Regions from separate parts of the Homo sapiens genome. Here region 1 is linked to region 2. Evidence: promoter capture Hi-C in human tissues and cell types (Jung and others, 2019). All regions are on one chromosome and are shown on one strand. The core of a region is centred on a gene start or on the middle of the fragment in contact, and the rest is flanking DNA. Distances in the headings are between cores, read along the strand shown.

Region 1 (3,675 bases), core at 860-3,359, 470 kb after region 2:
TCTTATGTAAATGAAAATTCCTAAGCTGTATTATAACTTAATATTGAAAGAAATTAAAACATTTACGCAGGGAGAGAGGAAGACCCAGCTTGCGCACCCCTATTTTTCTGGCCACTACTGTGAGTGTTCATACCAGGATGCATTTTCATGAAAAATCCAGTGGCTGTTTAAGTCCTGGAAGGGTATCTTGGGATTATTTCAGCAACCCGTGAAGGCAGGCTTTGTGCAAGGTGAGACAGATATGAGCTGTCACTTCCTGCTTTGTGAGTTGGATATTGTTTCTAGGCCCTGTTTTATTTATGTTATTTTTCCTGTTCATGTGTTAGAACAACTGACTGTTTGTAGAGTTGATGACAATTAGATAATAAGACCACCAATTCAGTCCAAACAAAGATGAATTCATTATCTTGCCAGGCAAGGGAGACCCACATATTCAGATCAGTCTCCCCATACTTTTGTGCGTTTTCATGTAAGCATGGAGATTTCCGATTAGTTTTAATAGCACAGTGATTGGCTCCTAGACACCTAAATGAGGATTTCCTTTTTGAAAAACCTACTCAGCATTCTGATCTGTCCCTGCTTAAACCTATTTAGTCTGGTCTTATAGTCCCTGACTTGAGCCCAAAGAGCAAGGTTTCTCAAGGTCTCTGTGCAGGTCTTTGATGCTCTTTCGTGGAAGAGATTTACAGTGGTTACAGCCATAACCGGTGCCTGTGGCTGAACCATGCCTTCTGTAGTGTGTTCAGCCCTTCCCTTGAATTAATGCAAGTTCCACCTTTGCTTTAATGGGAGGGGACAGAAGGACCACTTTGAGGAAGCGGAGGCAAGAAGATAGTCTGCAAAAGCCATGACGTGGCACTGAAATGAAGCCCTGTGTAGGGTTTTACTCAGACGTTAGAGAACTGGCTGCCCCTGAGTGCTGTGCTAACTAGGGAAAGAAAAAAAACCCTGACCTTTAAAATTTTTCCTGTGAAGGTCTAGCAATTCTGGAGTGTCTTCAGCGACTACACAGTGTAAAGCAACTTTTTGCACAGAAGCACCATAAATTACCTAAATGGAAATTTGCTTCTAAGTGAAGTTCTTACCCTGTCTGTTGGATATTTAGTATTGTCAATATTTGTTTTTGTTTTTGACATTTTCAGGAAACCAAGAGCTTTTTGTCACATTTGAAGAATCTCTTTTAAGAGTTTCTTTTCTATTTATAATGCGTTTCTGATAAGAAGATTTGCACCTTTCTCTATTTTAGAAAATACTTTTTGAGGTCTTTTGTTTTTCCTTTTATGAAGTTTAAATAGTTGTCTTAACCTCCAATCCTAGCAACTCCCTTACATTAAAAATGACCTATATTTTTTTTCTCCCATGAGGTTCCTTTGCTCAGAGAGAATAAGAAAAGTTCTGGTAATTAGTCACTGTGGTATTCTGTAAACAAATACTTTGGAAGCTATGATTTATGTTACTGGTCGGGAAGAAAAAAAAATGGTTTTGTGTATCTCTAGACGATTACCCTTGTGAAAGGCAAGTGCCTCGTATTCCCAAAAGGTCTCTTGGGTGCCCTGTTTGTTGTGTTAAGGTCTCTCAAAGCCGGTGGCCATTTTCTGCGAGCTGAATCCCTGTGTGAAACTCCTCCCACTGTGAGGTCTACGAGCATTTGTTTTCTAAAATGAAAGCACAGGCAGAAACTCAAGCTATTCTACAGAACAGTCTGTTCTTTTGATTTTTTTTTTTTTAGATCAGTATATTTAAAGCATAATTTTTCTAAACAACATATTGCGAGTGTTTACCTGCAGTGGTTTGGAGTTTGTTTGGGGAGTTTTAATTATTTTTTAATGTAGACAACTTATTTACCAACATCATTGCTCCTTCTGCTCAGATAATTCTACCCTAAACCAGGTGAATAGGGGAACTATGTAGGCACCTGACTACTGCCAGAAACTTTCCTTCTGTTTCTATTACCTTTCTTTTGGGGTGAAATTGGCAACAGCTCACTGGAACTTAGCTCCCTTAATATTCTTTCTCCCTCCCACAATTTTTTCCACTCGGTTTTTTTTTTTTATCTGAACCATTGTTCATCCATTTGAAACACTGGCCAGAGTTTTTGTCGCTTTTCCATAGTAGGAAAGCCTTTGTGCCTCTCTTTGTACCTCAGACCTACTGGTGGGCTTGCCGGACAGCTCTGCCAAGCGCCTGCGTCTCCTGAGCCTATGAAGAGGCGACTTTCACAATCCTGTGCTGCCTTCGAGCTCTGTGCTGCCAGGCCTGGCCTCCCTCCAGAGGTCGTAGTGTTGCCAGCAGTGGCTTCAAACTGGAAACATGGGAGGAGGAATTGTGGGAAATGGGGAAGAAGAAAATGTTTGTGCAGGGAAAGTGTGTACGTGGACTTAAATAAATATCTGAGGGCCCAGGCCCATACAGATGATCTCTGTACGCTGGTATTTTGCGCCTGGAGCCAGGTGTCTGTTGACAGTGGGGAGGAGGTGGGGAAGACCCAGCCGGCCGAGAGCCTCAGCCACCTTCCTGCAGGAGGTCCTCACACCCCAGACGGTCAGAATGCTCCCCAGACTGAGGAATCAGCTGCACATCCCCCTGATGTCTCTAAAGCTGAAATCTGCTTCCTGGGTTTAGCCACCATTTTCATTGAGCAGTTCTGAGGATTCCTTGTGGGTACTTGTGATCTTGGTGGAGATGCTTCATGGTGTTGACCCTATTGTTTTGAATACCTGACAGCTGGATGGTCCAGGCCCTATTTCTATGATCTGTTTTTTGGAACTGTTGTATTTGTGTGACACAGTGATGGAGCATGATGTCAACTCCCACATACTGTAACCCAGGAAGGAGCATGATGTCAGCTCAGGATACCGGAACCGATAAAAACTCAGTGAGTGTTGCTTCCCCCGTTACACACCTGCTCATGATGACTTGTGGGATGCTTGTTTTAAAGGAGAGCTGAGTGCCTCTGATAGAAAATCTGATTTCATGAAATGCTTATTAGGAGTTAAGTACCCCTTTTTCTTGAAGCTTGAACAGACTTTATCATTAATGTGACTGACTGGAGCAAAGTGAAGAGTTTGATACCTGCCACTCTGTCTCTGAAGATTTACGTAGAGAAATTTTCCCCATAGGAATGGACAAACTAAAGGGATCCTTAAGAAATAGTATGTCACCCAAATATATTCTGTGGTAAGGCTTCTCAACACCTGTTCTTCATTAGGACGGAGCACTCTGAGAGTTTTGAAAACTTGAATACTGACATCTCATCATTTAAATTTTAGAAGGACAATGACTCACAGTACAGAGATTAAAATTTCACAGGCAGAACAAAACCTACATGTGATTTATACTTACGTTTTTATAGACTAAGATCTAAAACTCACATACATACAGGAACAGGAAAGTAATATGAACATCAAATGTGGGCTTGGTATAAGAAGGTAAGCAAGTGGTTAGATTGTGGCAAACTGGAGGTTTGAAACTTTTTCACACAGATAGGGGCCTGATGAGAGCGTCTGCAGGCCGAATGGAGCCTATGGACTGCTTCTTGCATGCCAGTTGCACGCCATTTGACTCAGTCCGCTGATCCGAATTCCCTCAGTGGCAACCTGCCCAGTCTTCTCCTGCAGAGCGTTGGGCTTGAAGCTGTCTAAGGCCCAGCCCAGGGAAAAGTAAAGACCATTGAAC
Region 2 (3,817 bases), core at 68-2,567:
ATATTGAAACATTTCTTTGAAGAATTGTAACAGGAGATCAAACATAGCTTTCTCAGTATGATTCTGGATCAAAGCAATAGTTACCAAGAGGTGCAAGTGGTCCAGTCAAATCAAAAGTAGACTGGTCAAGAGCCGAAGTCATAGCAGCAGCTTTTTGGGATGCTCAAGGTATTTTGCCTGTTGACTTTCTGGAGGGTGGAAGAGCAATAACATCCGCTTACTATAGGAGAAAGTGAAGCAAAGCTTTAGCATAAAAACACCTACGAAATCTTCACCAGAGAGTCCTTCTCCATCAGGACAATGTTCCTGCTCATTCCTCTCTTTAAATAAGGGCATTTTTCCAGGGATTTCGATGGGAAACTATCAGGTATCCATCTTACATTCCTGACCTGGCTCCTTCTGACATATTTTTGTTTTCTAATCGTGAAAAATCTGTAAATGGCACCCATTTTTCTTCAGTTAATAACGTAAAAAAGCCTGCATTTTCATGATTAAATTCCCAGAACCCTCAATTCTTTACAGATGGACTAAAGAGCCGGTATCATCACTTACCAAACTGTCTTTAACTTGATGGAGCTTACGTTGAAAAACAAAGTTTATATTTTTAAATTTTATCTTTTAATTCCATTTCCCATGAACTTTTATTCTTTTAAAAACAAACCCAAGTATTTTAATTCTACTTGCCTTTTTTACTTATTACACACTTCGGGAGATTTTTTGCCATATGGAATCACCTCATCCCTTGTCACGATTGCATAATATTCCATAGTAGGAATGTTTCATGATTTATTTCTTCATTCCCCCACTGATTTCAATTTTCTGCAACTGCAAGCATTGTTCATAATTCTGTACTGTTTGTGAGCCTATATAGGAGTATCCGTGCACAAACCTTTTTATGCATTGTGCGAGGGTTACTCTGAGATAGACACCAAGGGAACTGCTGGGTCATAAATCCAATTTTTTCAAAGTAAATCCGCTTGCGAACCCGGAACCAAGTCGATTTTTCCCGCCCCGCCAGTTCCCTGTTCAGGAGAGTGCAGCCGTGATTGGCGCGTTCACTCAGGCCAGGGGCGCCCCAGGTCTCAGGTGCTAGGAGCGCGGTGACCTACCACCCTCCGGGCACGCGTTCTGGCCACGCCTCGCGGCCCCTTTCATTGAAAGAGCCCGTAGGGATCACGTGAAAGAACACTGCAGAGTGCGTGACGTCACGACGCTCACACCAATGGGAGCCTCTGTTTATGTCGGGAGCCATCAAATAGTCATCTTCCCCCTACCATCCCCCGCCCACTCTCCGTCGCGCTGCGCTGCGTCGCTTTCAGCCTCTGGTGAAGGGCGGCGCGCTTAGGCAGGCGGTGGCGCGGCTGGAGTGCCGCGGGGAGGGCTGTGCCGGTTGCTTTCTGCAGCCGCATCTCGGCCAGCTCTCCTCGCCGTCCCCGGGGCGCTGTGCGTCTCCAGTCCGGGACCGAAGCCGCCTGCCGTAGCGGGCGGCCAGATCCGCGTCCCGCCTCAGCGGCCGGAGGACATGCGGGAGAGAGAATGAGCCAGAGGGACACGCTGGTGCATCTGTTTGCCGGAGGGTAAGGTCCTGGCGGGGCGTGCGCACTGGGGCTGAGGGTGCTGGGGCCGAAGACGCAGGCGAGGGGGGCGAGGGGGGCCGAGGGGGGTGGGGGGGTGGGGGGGCGGGAGTGAGGCCTGGGCGGGGAGCTGCCACGGGCCTGCGGGTGAGGGGAGCGACCCAGCCCGTGGGTGGTGAGGGGGGCTCCGGTTCGGGGAAGCAAGGGGGTGAGGCCCGGGCCCGAGGGCGAGAGAGTGAGGCCCGGGCAAAGAGGGTTGAGGCATGAAACCCGGGCCGGGAGTGAGGTTTTGGGCCCGCGGGGCCGGGGTGAGGCGGAGGCCGAATCCATGCGTCTGAGGAGACGCGGGCAAGAGCTGGGGTCGGCGCTTGATTACCCGGACGCCGCTGGACCTGGCCGCACGCCGCAATCTAGCAGGCGTCGGGGATCCAGGGCCGCTTTGAGGAGCCTGGCTTCGGATTTCGCGTAGGTTGCATGGCCCAAGGGGACGGGGCGGAAAGTGCGGAGGCTGAGGACAAAATGGGCGCCGGAGACTCCTTTAGCCCTCGCTCCTTGCAGCGCTCGCTTGGGCCTCTGCACGTCACTCACGCCCCACCTCGGACCTCGGGCCGCTCATTTCCGGGCTCGGCTTTGCAAGGTGGGTGGTAAGGGGGCTACGGGATCGAGCGGGGAAGGCTTTGGTATTCTCCCGTGGTTGCTGTAGGGTGTTTCTAGCCCTTGGAAAATTTCTTGCCCGAGGTTTTCCAGGTGGTGAATGGGGTGCAAAGCTTTCCAGTACCTTTGGGGTCAGATTCCTTTCGAGAAAACCACCCCTCTTGAACACCGCTTGCTTTTCTGCTGCTTAGGAGAAAGTAGGAGTGGAGAGAGGTCAGATTTTTTGAAGATAGTGTTAATAGTTACTATGTGTGTGCAAGATTAGGACTAAGCCTAAAGTCTTAGTTCCCTGATTGCCAAAATGAGTGTTAGAGCTTCCAGTTTAGCCTCCTGTTTAGATTTGCTCCTTCTAAATCATTTGGAGAATCATAGCAATTTTAAGAGTTACTTATTTGGAGGATTATAAAGAGTTTTCTTATCAAAAATGCCTTCGGTGAATTATGCTGAGACTCTTACCGGCATCTTCTTAAATCCTGCAGTTTTTAGATCGACTTTTAAGAATATGAAAGAAATACACACGCAGTTCTATTCACGGTGCCTTGCTTTGAGTTGGACATATGGACTCTATTGAGCCAGTGATGGCAATACTTTCTTTAGGTTGGCACACTTTCATCAACAAATATTTGTTGTACACCAATTATGGGCCGGCCACTGTTCTGGCATAAAAACAATATTTTTCTATTGATCTGTGAGACCCAGTTTAGGCAGTTTGCTTTCCATATTTCTGAAATGTTTACTGCCAATAATCAGGCAAATTAAATCTTTTTAAAAAAATTCTGTAGCTATGTAGATGCTCTTGAAAAGATCTCATGCAAATAATTGAGCTCCCTCTTGTAATTAGATCTATAACCCTGAAGTGAGGAGACCGCAGATGTAGTCTAGCACTATTTTAATTTGGGTGAAAAATGGACACTTTTATTTCAATTGCTTCATCTATAAAATTAGGAGGTTGTATTATATGATCTCTAAAGCCCTTCTCTAGCTCCTAACATTTCTATTATTCTGCGTTCAGGATTCATGTATCAAGTTTAGTTAAAAATGGGGCATACTTATATTTGAAATAAATGTTAGCTTGATTGCACTAATTTCCCACTTTGGATTAGGATCATCATTTTGTTATAAAAACATGTAAATATAGGTTTTCTGGTTTAAGAACAGGAATGGGAGGTGTTTGTAGCATCTAAACACACAGATTAGGAGCTCCATCCCCTCCCCCCCAGTCTAGCATATGTAGTTAGAGTATTAAATGAGATATGGTATGTAGGATTTGATACAAGATAGGTGCTCAGCCGTATAATTTCTCTTCCTTTGCATCTCATCTTGATTTTATTTTTATATGTGGTTACATAAGTGAGTTCAGTAAAACACACCTTATCTTTTTAAAGGAAGCCCAGTATATTTTAAAAGAACCAAGAGTAACCTTTCACAGAGTATTTAATCTTAGGCAAGGGTTTTCCGAATATGGAGCCTTTAAGTTGTTTTTCTGATAAGTAGAATTGTAATATTCAAATATGTTTATCGGAATCCCACATTTCTAATAGCCTAGTAGCTGTATTGTTAAACACCAGCACTGGACCTTGGTTCTGGGT

What was found. Contacts are between HindIII fragments. The study calls those that stand out against the background at their distance.
Region 1: a contact is called between a fragment that was not itself captured here and the fragment with the promoter of SLC25A36 in region 2, in 1 of the 25 tissues and cell types used here (hippocampus).

What each region holds. Positions count from the first base shown.
Region 1 is chr3:141,410,765-141,414,439 of GRCh38, forward strand. The region is part of intron 5 of ZBTB38 (zinc finger and BTB domain containing 38); the gene reads left to right. Among named protein-coding and RNA genes, the nearest start is that of ZBTB38, 44 kb to the left of the region's middle. The HindIII fragment of the contact is 4,547 bases long and covers 1-3,675 here.
Region 2 is chr3:140,940,519-140,944,335 of GRCh38, forward strand. SLC25A36 (solute carrier family 25 member 36) reads left to right here and starts at 1,318. Exons shown (of 7, transcript NM_001104647.3): 1 at 1,318-1,577. The coding sequence starts at 1,537. RefSeq lists enhancers at 1,292-1,661, 1,755-2,602, 2,242-2,471. The HindIII fragment of the contact is 6,402 bases long and covers 1-3,817 here.